Linked DNA regions of Homo sapiens: regions 1 and 3 are each linked to region 2. Evidence: promoter capture Hi-C in 16 types of primary human blood cells and fetal thymus (Javierre and others, 2016). All regions are on one chromosome and are shown on one strand. The core of a region is centred on a gene start or on the middle of the fragment in contact, and the rest is flanking DNA. Distances in the headings are between cores, read along the strand shown. Region 1 has its middle 35 kb from the start of RGCC. Region 2 holds the start of DGKH (diacylglycerol kinase eta). Region 3 overlaps RGCC (regulator of cell cycle).

What was found. Contacts are between HindIII fragments. The CHiCAGO score rates a contact against its expected background, and 5 or more counts as called.
Region 1: a fragment that was not itself captured here is called in contact with the fragment with the promoter of DGKH in region 2 in 2 of 17 cell types (M0 macrophages and fetal thymus); the score reaches 5.3 in M0 macrophages.
Region 3: a fragment that was not itself captured here is called in contact with the fragment with the promoter of DGKH in region 2 in 2 of 17 cell types (fetal thymus and M1 macrophages); the score reaches 7.7 in fetal thymus.

Annotation. Positions count from the first base shown.
Region 1 is chr13:41,490,574-41,493,957 of GRCh38, forward strand. No RefSeq gene overlaps it. Among named protein-coding and RNA genes, the nearest start is that of RGCC, 35 kb to the left of the region's middle. The HindIII fragment of the contact is 1,556 bases long and covers 544-2,099 here.
Region 2 is chr13:42,046,688-42,050,237 of GRCh38, forward strand. It overlaps DGKH (diacylglycerol kinase eta), which reads left to right and starts at 1,961. Exons shown (of 30, transcript NM_178009.5): 1 at 1,961-2,278. The coding sequence starts at 2,087. RefSeq lists an enhancer at 1,108-1,197 and a silencer at 1,738-2,267. The HindIII fragment of the contact is 8,345 bases long and covers 1-3,077 here.
Region 3 is chr13:41,464,472-41,467,845 of GRCh38, forward strand. It overlaps RGCC (regulator of cell cycle), which reads left to right. Exons shown (of 5, transcript NM_014059.3): 3 at 2,352-2,459. Among named protein-coding and RNA genes, the nearest start is that of RGCC, 8.6 kb to the left of the region's middle. RefSeq lists a silencer at 33-247 and an enhancer at 741-1,000. The HindIII fragment of the contact is 7,241 bases long and covers 1-3,374 here.

The sequences.
Region 1 (3,384 bases), core at 72-2,571, 560 kb before region 2:
TAAAAAGAAGTGGTGAGGTGACACATCCTCATTCTGTTCCTGATCTTAGAGGAAAAACTTTCAGACTTTCACCATCAAATATGTTAGTTGTGGGAATATTTTCTTTGTTAGCCAAATAAGCTCTTGACTTGTTTTCAAAACTTAATTTTTCCATTACCTGGATCTGGTTCTTATTCATGCTTGGGAACCTGTATCTGCTTTGGGCAATTTTTTTTTCATCATGGCACCAGCAGCTGTTCATTTTCACTGTAACTTTTATTATTAGTCTCTTCTGGAATGGAAGATCTAACTGTGTTTGGCTGCTGTTTCTTCACGAGCTCCTGGGATCTGGACTCCCCAAGTCAGAAGTGTAAGGTGTGAAGCTTTGTGGCTTGTTGTGAAGAGAAAGTCAGTGGTTTTGGGAAAAGAAATGGATCTCTTTACATAAGTGTGTGTGTGTGAGAGAGAGAGAGAGAGAGAGAGAGTGTGTGTGTGTGTGTGTGTGTGTGTGTGTGTGTGTGTGTGTGGAGTGGGGGAGGGGGCGCGGGTAGTTTGTACTCCATAAGCTTCTTTTGGATAATGACTTAAGGGCAAATGGGCTGTGGACTCAGTCACAGTTTGGAGTTCTGGGAATGTTGAAAAAAGTATTTTCAGAGTTTCCCAAGATATGTTTCAAGGAGAACAGTCCTAACTCGTTTTGCAAAAATTGCTGTTAAGGTCATATGTGCTTGAGAAATGCTGCATGCTATAGGCTCCACTTGGAGATTCATTATGCATATTAGTGCTTATATTACTTAGGGGCCAGTCTAAGTTCTGGATCAAAGACCCCAAGATACAGTGGCTCAAACAAGATGGAAGTTTCTTTCTAACAATCCAGAGATGATTAGTACAAGGCTGAGTAGGTGGCTTTCTGGTCCAAAGTGGCTGCTCCTGCTCTTGTCATCACATTTACATCCCAGCCAGCAGAAAGGAGAAATGGCAAGTCAAACATAGGCTTATTTCTTTAAACAACATGACTAGAAGAGACACCTCACTTCTGCTCACATCCCCTTATTCAGATCTTACATCCTCATTCCCAGCTGAAAGGGAGGCCAGGAAAAAGCATCTAGCTGGCATATATGTGTTCAGCTAAAATTTAAGAGTTTTATTATTAAAGAAAGAGGAAGAGAATGACTATTGGAGAACAACTAGTTATCTCTGCCACAGCATATTGAAGGCTTTGAGAAATCCTGCAGCTAAGAGATTTGGTCTGTTTTTGGTTTTTGTTTTGTTTGTTGATGAAAAAGCTACCAATAATCCAGAGTCATTAGTGTTCCTTGGAACATGCCTTGGGAAATGCTTTTATAGGTAACCTCAAGTCAGCGGGGTCTATTGCACTCCCCTTCCTCCAAGATCTGAGTGCTGAGACCATGGCCTTGCAAACTGCCTGATTATTATTTGGAGAGTGTCAGCTAGTGGGCTTTTCTGGAACAGAACGAGACTGGATATTGTATATGGGAAGCTGGTAGAATATTGTGCATGCAAAGCTGGTATGTTTTTGAGTTTGGAAATTCTCTGTTCTAATTTCAGGGAGGAACAGTTAGAGCAAAACAAAATGACAAATACTGCACACACCCAAGAGTAAGAGGCTCTAGTGCCAGCCCAAATATTTATACACCAGCCAGCCTCCAGAATGGGACAGAAGAACCAATGAATACCTTTTCCCTGGGGGATCATGACAGAGGTAGGCTACATTGCATGTTCCACATGTGAGAGGCATGTCTGAAATGAGGAGCAGTAGAAGGGCGGCCATTGGCAATTAGTCAAGGTTGGGAATCCTGAGGAGGCTTCTCCATGGGAACATCCCCCTGGGTCTGGGCTGAGGAAAGGAGGAGAAAGTATGAGCTTTCAGGCTAGACAGGGTTCAAATCCCAGCTCTGCCTTGTAGTAGCTGGGTGACCTTGAGCAAGCTCTTTAACCTCTCAGAGGCTCTGTTTCCTCATTTGTAAAGTGTAGGTGTGAGTCACTGTCTCCTAGGGTCATTGCAATGATCAAATATAGAAAAGAAAAAGTGTCTGGCACTCCTCCTCCTCCTTTTCATACCACAAGGACATTGGGCTCCTGTACCCAAGGTAAAATTAAGCTTTGCCTACAGTGGCTGCAGAGGGCAGTTCTAGCCCCATTATTCCTTGTCTGATAGAAGAAAGTGGCAAATCTGGCCTAATGCAATCACAGCGAGGAAGGCAGAGAAAAAACACTGGGCAAAGGGGCAGGAGAGAGGGTGAAAGCCCCAGTCCTGCTGTGAACTGGATCCCTTCCCCTCTCTGGGCCTCAGATTCCTCCAAGTTAATCGGACTAAATGGCCTGGGGTCTGTTCAGTTCATACAGTTGGTGGGCTCTGGCCTTATCCTCAGACTGCCAGCTCTTCTCTGAAAAATAGATGGAATTTTTCTTGAATTTTCAGTATGTGCAAGAAGCACGTACTTCTCCAAAATGCCTTCCTGTGTTAATTTATTTGACTAAGAAGGTTTGCAGTGACAGACACCAAACAGGAAACGGCTGTCATAGCTGCTGTCTGCAAGTTTTGTTTTTTTTTAAGGCTTTCTCCTGCACAACTCACCTTCTCTTCATGGCTTGGTATCAAGTGCTGGGGTGAATGGAAGGGAAAGGGAAAGGGAAACACATTTTTAGAAGGGAACATTTTCCTTCAAGTTCAGGGTCTACTGAAGGTTAAGGAGTATGACTATCCACAATGGCAGCGTTAGGTGGCTCCATTGCAGGGCCTTTGCACACTCAGTTCCCTCTGCCTGGAATGTCCACTCTGCTCGGTTTTTCTAGTTAATTCTACTTCTTTAGGATCAGCTCAAGCATCACTTTCTCAGAGTCTTCCAGATCCGTCTAGATTGTTTGTTGGTGCTGTGTTCTTGTAGAACCTTCCTTCAGTGCACTCATCTTGGTTTGCAATGGCATGTTCAGTAGTGTGATGTTTTGGTTAATGTCTCCCTACCCTCCTGTAACTGGACCATAAGCCCCACAAAGACAGGAGCCTTGTGGCTTGCCACCACATCTCTGGCAGCGAGCATGGTGCCTGGTACATAGTAAGCACTCAGTCCATGTCCATTGAATGAATGAGAAAACTCCCACCCCTTCCACAGCCCAGGTAGGCTGGCCACGACACAGTGTCTGTGGGATACATCTTGGCCTTGTCCCCTCGCCTGGTCAGCCTCGTCATGCAGGCCTTTTTTGCTTTCCATTCTCCAGGACTTTGTTTCCACTCTACCAAAGCATCTGATAAATTAATCCAGAGCCAACACTGGTGCCGGAGGCCCATGACAGCCCCTTCCGCAGCTACTTATAACTAACTTGGGGAGCAGGGGCCTCTGAAGACTGCGAGAACTTTGAGGCCAAAAGGAATGAGTATCTAAT
Region 2 (3,550 bases), core at 711-3,210:
TCACTCGCTGCCTGGATTCTGGAAAATGTTGCTATATAAAACACATAATGTATGAATAGAAGTATATGGTAACTGACAGACTTTTGTTATACAGTGTGATAAAGTGAATAGAACATTAGAATACTAACCGCATGATTTTGACTTTGGTCTCAGTTTGTCAGTTGGGGCCTTAGTTTCTTTACATTAAAGGAGAAGACTAAACTAAGTTTATTCTTTCAAAAGACCCTTTACTAGGTGTCCTTGTCTACATTTCCAAAATATTGGACTTGTCCATGACCAAACAGGTGGGAATGAAGGCCATTATTTTGATTATTTTTCTCTTTTAAGAATTTCCAGAAATATGTTCTTTGTAGATAAAGAATTACATATTTGTAGAGTTCTAAGCGTTCTTAAAATTCATTTTGCCCAACTCCTTCCTTTCCTAAAGGAGACAACAGAAGCTGCAGAAATAGCCTCTCTGTTATTATTACATAGCAGCAGTCTCCTGTCTTTAAATATTTGAACTAAACACATTTTACATTTTAATGAATTTAATTTACAGTGTGATGTCCAGTATTGGGATTGCATACTATTTCTTAAAACTTCTTAGAACTGTTAGCTCTAATATATCAAATTTCTTGTTGGGAGTAAGACTGCAAGTTAAAAAAAAAAATTAGAACCTTAGTTTGGAGGAACCTTAAAGGTCATGTCAACTGAAAAAATACGAAAGGAATGGTACTGAAAGGCATGAACATAACAGAGATTGAATGCTTTCTCCAGGTGGAGAGACTCCACAGTCTGGCAGGGACTTTTTGTCCTATTTAAAAATATAGCTAACACCAGTTTGGTGTTCTCTTTGGATGACAAGAGGGATCTGTCGTTTTAATGTCTTCTCTCGCAGCCCCCTCACCGCAGCCCCCTCACACCTGTGAGGCTTCTTTGACGTTGAGCGTGCACAACCCGCTGCCAGTCCGCGGTTCCCAAGTGCCCGCGCAGCCAGCTTGCAGGGGAGTTGTGCGCGGTGGCTACAGCCTGTTGATCCCACTTCCTCCTGCTCTAGTCCGGGCTAGGGAGTGGCTCTGCCAGGACTTCCAAGGCTTTTTGTCTCGGGTACTGGTGTTCGCATGGCTCGAGTGTATTGTTTTCTTCCAGGCAATCTCGGTTAGCGCTTCAGCTTAGACACTTCTTGTGCGTTCTGTCGTCTTGGGCTGCGTGTAGTCTCTTGTTTCTGCGCTTTCTCCACGCCCTTCCCAGTTTCCTGTTAGCCGAAGGGGATCGCTCTTTCTGAACGAAAAGTTCTCAGAGCGGAGCTGAACCTCCCGGAAAATGCTCTTCTCTTCCGTGTGCGCCGGATGGGGGTGGGGGTGGGCCAGAAACTGAACGCCGCCGTCAGGAGAGCTGAGGGGACCCGACGGCCCTGGCGGAGGCGGGAGAGGTACGGTCCTCGGAGTGGGGCTGGGGGTGGGGAAACCGACGAGGGGCAGCCCCCGACTGTCTTGGTGGCAGAGGGGACTTTTATTCAGCTGGAACCGCGCGGCGAGGCCCAAGTGTCTCTGGAGAGATTCGGGGTTCAGGAGGTGGCGGGTGCACCCAAGGGTGCTGGGAGGAAGCTCCAGGTTCCCATTCTTCCCCAGGGATCGGCGTTGCCCCTGCTGTCCAGAAGTGAGAGGGGGTGTGCGGGCATCGCCACTACGGGGTGGGCTGCAGAGGTTTCCTGCCTCCCCCACCCTCCTGTCCATCCTAGGGACCCAGACCGTAAGGGAGTGGAAGAGATGTTGCTCCAAACCCTGTCACCCCATCCTCTCTACCCGCGCTGGTCCTATCCGAGGCTGGGTGCGCAGGGGTCCGAGGCGGGCGGGGGTCCGTTACCTCTGCGTCCCACCGTGGCCGCCGCTCCGGCGGGAACCGAGCGGAGGAGCCGGGTGGACCCCTGCCTGGAGGGCGCCTGCCCCGGGCGACCCTTACCTCGCGGGGGTAGCTAGGGAAACGGAAGATGGCGGCGGCGGCCGGGCACGGGGTTCCGGGCTCCGCTCGGGCAGAGCCCACCCGCTGACCAACGCCGCCGCCCCCGCCGGGCGGTGCTGTGTCCCCGCAGGAGTCGGAGAGGATGGCAGGGGCCGGAGGCCAGCACCACCCTCCGGGCGCCGCTGGAGGAGCGGCCGCCGGAGCCGGCGCCGCGGTCACCTCCGCCGCTGCCTCGGCGGGGCCGGGAGAGGATTCGTCTGACAGCGAAGCGGAGCAAGAGGGACCCCAGAAACTGATCCGCAAAGTGTCTACCTCGGGGCAGATCCGGACCAAGGTAGGGCGGAGGAGGCGGGCCTGAGGGCCGCGTGGAAAGCGGGAGGTGGAGAGGGCGCGGGGGCGCTGGAACGCGCCGGGCGATCCCGGGAAGGCGGGGAAGGCGGGGAAGGCGGGGAAGGCGGGGAAGGCGGGGAAGGCGGGGAAGGCGGGGAAGGCGGGGAAGGCGGGGATGGTGAGACGGTGAGGCGGGGCGGGGCCTGGGGCGCGGGCGGGGCGGGGAGGGGTGGGGCGGGGCCCGGGGGCGCTGGACCGCGGTGCTGCGGGACGGATTCCCGGCGGCTGCGCGGGAGGCTGCGAGCCTGGGCTCCCAGGGAGTTCGACTGGCAGAGGCGGGTGCAGGGAACCCGCGGCTCGGCGGGAGCGTGGGAAAAAGCTGACGCGCAGTCGCGAGTTCCTACTTAGGGAACTTAAAAGGAGAGTTTCAATTTTTCTTCCCTGCCGTTCGGGGGAGCGTGCGCATGTGCTGGCCAACCAGCCTGCGCTGCAGTGAGCCCTGCTGCTTTCCCACTTAGGCCCACTCAGAGGGTGGGTGGAAGGTGACACCGGTCAGCCTTTCCTGCCCCTCTGCCTCCTGCTGCGGTCTGGAAGGCAGAAGCCCCGAGGCAGGCAAGTGGGACATGGTGTTCGCGGCTTAACCGCACCCTGCATGGCTCCAAGGGCTGGCCAGGCTTTCGTGTCGCAGGTTCCCGCCAAGTGCAGGCAGGGTTCAGAACCATGCGTCCATGGTTCTTTTTAATAATGAGAAGTTACCTCTGTGCTGTGTGGACATTAGGATGGTGTGTTACTCTTGTTAATGAAGCTTGTGCTGTCGACCTGTGAGGTCTCAAAGTTAATTTTTAATTTGATCATGAACATACCAAAGCAAATGCTTATGGATATTAAAGGATTTTTATGTATTCTAATTTTCATTGTAATTTAAAAATCTTCACAGAGAGAGTCTGTTATCAGTAGGGAAATTTAACGAGGATATTGAAAACGGAACCACAAAATCATTGGCTTGGGGTACCGTTTTTAAAAATAAATTTGCAAAAAATTCATTCTACAGTTATTTTTATGAAAAATTTTCCCTAAGGTCAATGAACTCCTATTTGGAAACATAATTTTTATTCAGTGCCTGTGGAGGCCGGTAACGGTGGCTCATGCCTGTAATCCCAGCACTTTGGGAGGCCAAGGCAGGCAGATCACTTGAGGCCAGGAGTTCCAGACCAGCCTGGCCAACATGGTGAAACCCCATGTCTATTAAAAATAAAAAAATTAGCTGGGCTTTGAG
Region 3 (3,374 bases), core at 29-2,528, 580 kb before region 2:
CGGTTGAGGGAGCCAGCAGGAGGGCTTCCCAAGTAAGGTTCCACGGAGTCCAAGGGTCCTGAGAAGTAGTAGCAGGAGCACCACAAAGAAGTGTCCCGTGGTCAGGTACACTGGGGAAATGGGGCTGGTTTTGTTTAACCGCAAGTCTTTTCAGGATGTTGGAAGTGGGCATACCCATGGGAATGAGCAAGGCTGTTTGGTGTTTCTCAGGTGTACCTGATCACACAGCCCTCGGAGGACCAGCACTCTGAGGAATGTATTTTTGGGGAAGTGTAGGTATCAGGTCCAGGATTTTGGATCTCAGTCCATGTTCATCCTCAAAGCCCAGTGATGGTGGTCATTTCAGGTGAGCTGGGCTGGACCTCTGAAGGAAGCAAAGATTGTGAGGGTTGCTCTCAAGGGTCTTCTGGGCATGTTTGGAAAAGTGGACAAGATGGCGGTGTCAGCGAAAAAGAGCAGGGGGCAGGTGGGCCCCTGGGCAGGAGAGGGTGGGGGGAAAGGGAGCCAGGTGAGGCACCTGAGAAGTTGTGGCAGCCTCTTAGGGACAAAGCTGAATTTCCCTGAGACTAGAAACCTCTTCTTCCGAAAACTCTGATACTTTTTGTACTGGGCCTATCTCTTGTCACTTAGGCAAATTCCTTTTCAGTTAATGGGACCAAAGAGAGATGTTTTTGCCTCCCCCTAAGCTGGAGGTAGTTGGCTTAAAGTGGAAGAATCCCGAGGAGGCGGGGACCTGGTAAGGCCCCCATCATTCAGCTGCCCTCTCACACCTGAAGAGCCACTTCTCTGCTCCAACTGTGGCTGGCTTTGTGTTTTGTTTTAACCAGGAAGGCTGTTCCCCGTGACCTCAGGGGCCACATCCTGCTTCTGCTGCCTGCCTTGCCTTTGCACCCTTTGAGTCAGTGCTGCTCAGCCAGCAGCCCCTTTCTGAGTCACAGCCACACAGCTGGGCCAACCGTGCGTTGGTTTCCTTCCCCTTAGCAGGACTTAGAGAATCTCAGAACTTTAGAGCTAGAAGTGCCTTTAAGGATTATTTAGTCCGCCTTCCCATTCTATTGATAAGTAAGCTAGGCCCAGAGATGTACTAGCTCAAAGGCACCCTAGTACTTAGTAGTTGACTGGATGGTCCCCTTGACTCCCAGTTCAGCCTTGAACTTCTGGGGCCTCATCTTGCTGTGGTTCAAGTCTTTGGAGGTATGAGAATAGAGGGAGCCATGATGTCACTCCAAGTGTCTAATAGATGAACTTCCAGGAGAAGATGTCTTTATCTTTGACCTTCTGGCTTATCTGAAGAGTACAGACTCTTAGGAAAACCTCTCTTAAGTAAAAGAGAGGATTATTAAATTATAGGACAGCAAGAGAGCAAAGATCTCTCTTGAGCAGGGAAAGAGGCTTAAGTCATGGGATACTGGATGTTTGTATTTTAGGAGGCTCAGAGGGCAGAAGGGACATATTTCACTTGAGATGATTCCTTTTGCCTAAAATCCTTACCCCCACACTCCCACCATCAACCAAGCACTGGTCATGATGATCCTATCACCCCCTTCCTGTATTGGGGAAGCAAGGGCCTTTGGTATACTTGATTTGACACACACACACTCTCTCACTTCTCACTCACACTCTCACACTCACATGCTCTCACACACACACTCTCATTTTCTCACACACACTCCACACTCACACACGCACACACTCTCACACACTTTCTCACACACACACTCACACACACTCATACACTCACACACTTTCTCACACACACATATTCTCACACACACCCACACTCACACACTCATGCACACACACACACTTTCACACAAACACACACACACACTTTCTCTCTCACACACACACACTCCCTCTCTCCCCTGTCTCGAATCATTTTGGGGGCATAAACATAAAACCTGGAAATCAACCTGTTTTCTAATCTTTTTTTTTGAGACAGAGTCTCACTCTGTCACCCAGGCTGGAGTGCAGTGGTGTGATCTTGGCTCACTGCAAACTCCACCTCCCAGATTCAAGCGAGTCTCCTGCCTCAGCCTCCCAAGTAGCTGGGGCTACAGACACACACCACTATGCCTGGCTAATTTTTGTATTTTTAGTAGAGATGGGGTTTCACCATGTTGGCCAGGCTGGTCTTGAACTCCTCATCTCTGGTGATCCACCTGCTTCAGCTTCCCAAAGTGCTGAGATTACAGCCGTGAGCCACCCCATGCCTGGCTGTTTTCTTTACTATAGAGTTGCAGCTTTGGCTTATTTTGAAGACAAATTGTTGGTTATCAATAGACTATAAAGTGCTAAGTCTATAATCTCATGAGTACTATTTCTAATGAGTATATTTTCCTTCCTGAAAGGTGCAGATTCACTTTATAGGAACAGCTTCAGCTTCAGTGATGAAAAACTGAATTCTCCAACAGACTCTACCCCAGCTCTTCTCTCTGCCACTGTCACTCCTCAGAAAGGTAAGGTCATTAGTTGGAATTTGAGTTTTTTGCTTTTTTATTCCTCTCTCCTTCTCAATCCCTTCTCTGTCCCTTTTATCCCTAAACAATCTTTCTCAAATGTACAAAACAAATAGGTAAGACTAATGTCTTAATACTGTAGAGTATACAGTGGAATTTTTTATTTCTCAGGATTTTAATCAGTGTGAACATGAAATCAGATAATTTGGGGCAGAAAACCTGAAGTCACAGGGAGAAAGAAAATTTGGAGACTAGACTGTTCTCTCTCATGTGATGTAATCAAGACTGTGCAAATGACAGTGTTTCTTAGGAGTCTCCTCCCAGACTTGTTGGTTCTAGAATTTAAAACTCAGCAGTTTGCCTTTGCAGATAGTGGGATTCTTTTTATTGCATTAATTATTTAACCAATGCTTTCAGATGACCAATTTAGCAATTAAATGGGGTTGTCATTATTAGATAAGCTATGATCTAACATGATTTAAAATAGCAGCTCCAGCCTGTCTCTACTGTGGTATTAATAGACCTAAAATGTCTTTAAAGATGCATGAGCAGTTTCTTATTTTTTGGAACTGGTAAAATGTCTCCAGCTAGAGAGTTGAATGTTCTGTTACATTGGACAAGTGCCTTTTTGAAAACAAAAGGAGCTTTTTTTCTTAAGAAAAGTTATACTTGCTGAAAATAGTTGCAGAATGCAATAAAAATGGAACATAGTTAAAAAGAAATGACAATTCCATCACTCTTTTCACTTTGGCAATAAGACAGGACTTCACTCTTTTTTCAGAAGAGGCATTTGAAAGTTCCCTTCTCAACATAGCAACGTTAGCACCCACTGGGAATTCTGCCACTATCCAGCCCTCAGTCTGTAATGAATCAGTTGAATTCAGAGACAGAGCAGTCTAAAAAGTGGCTTAAAAC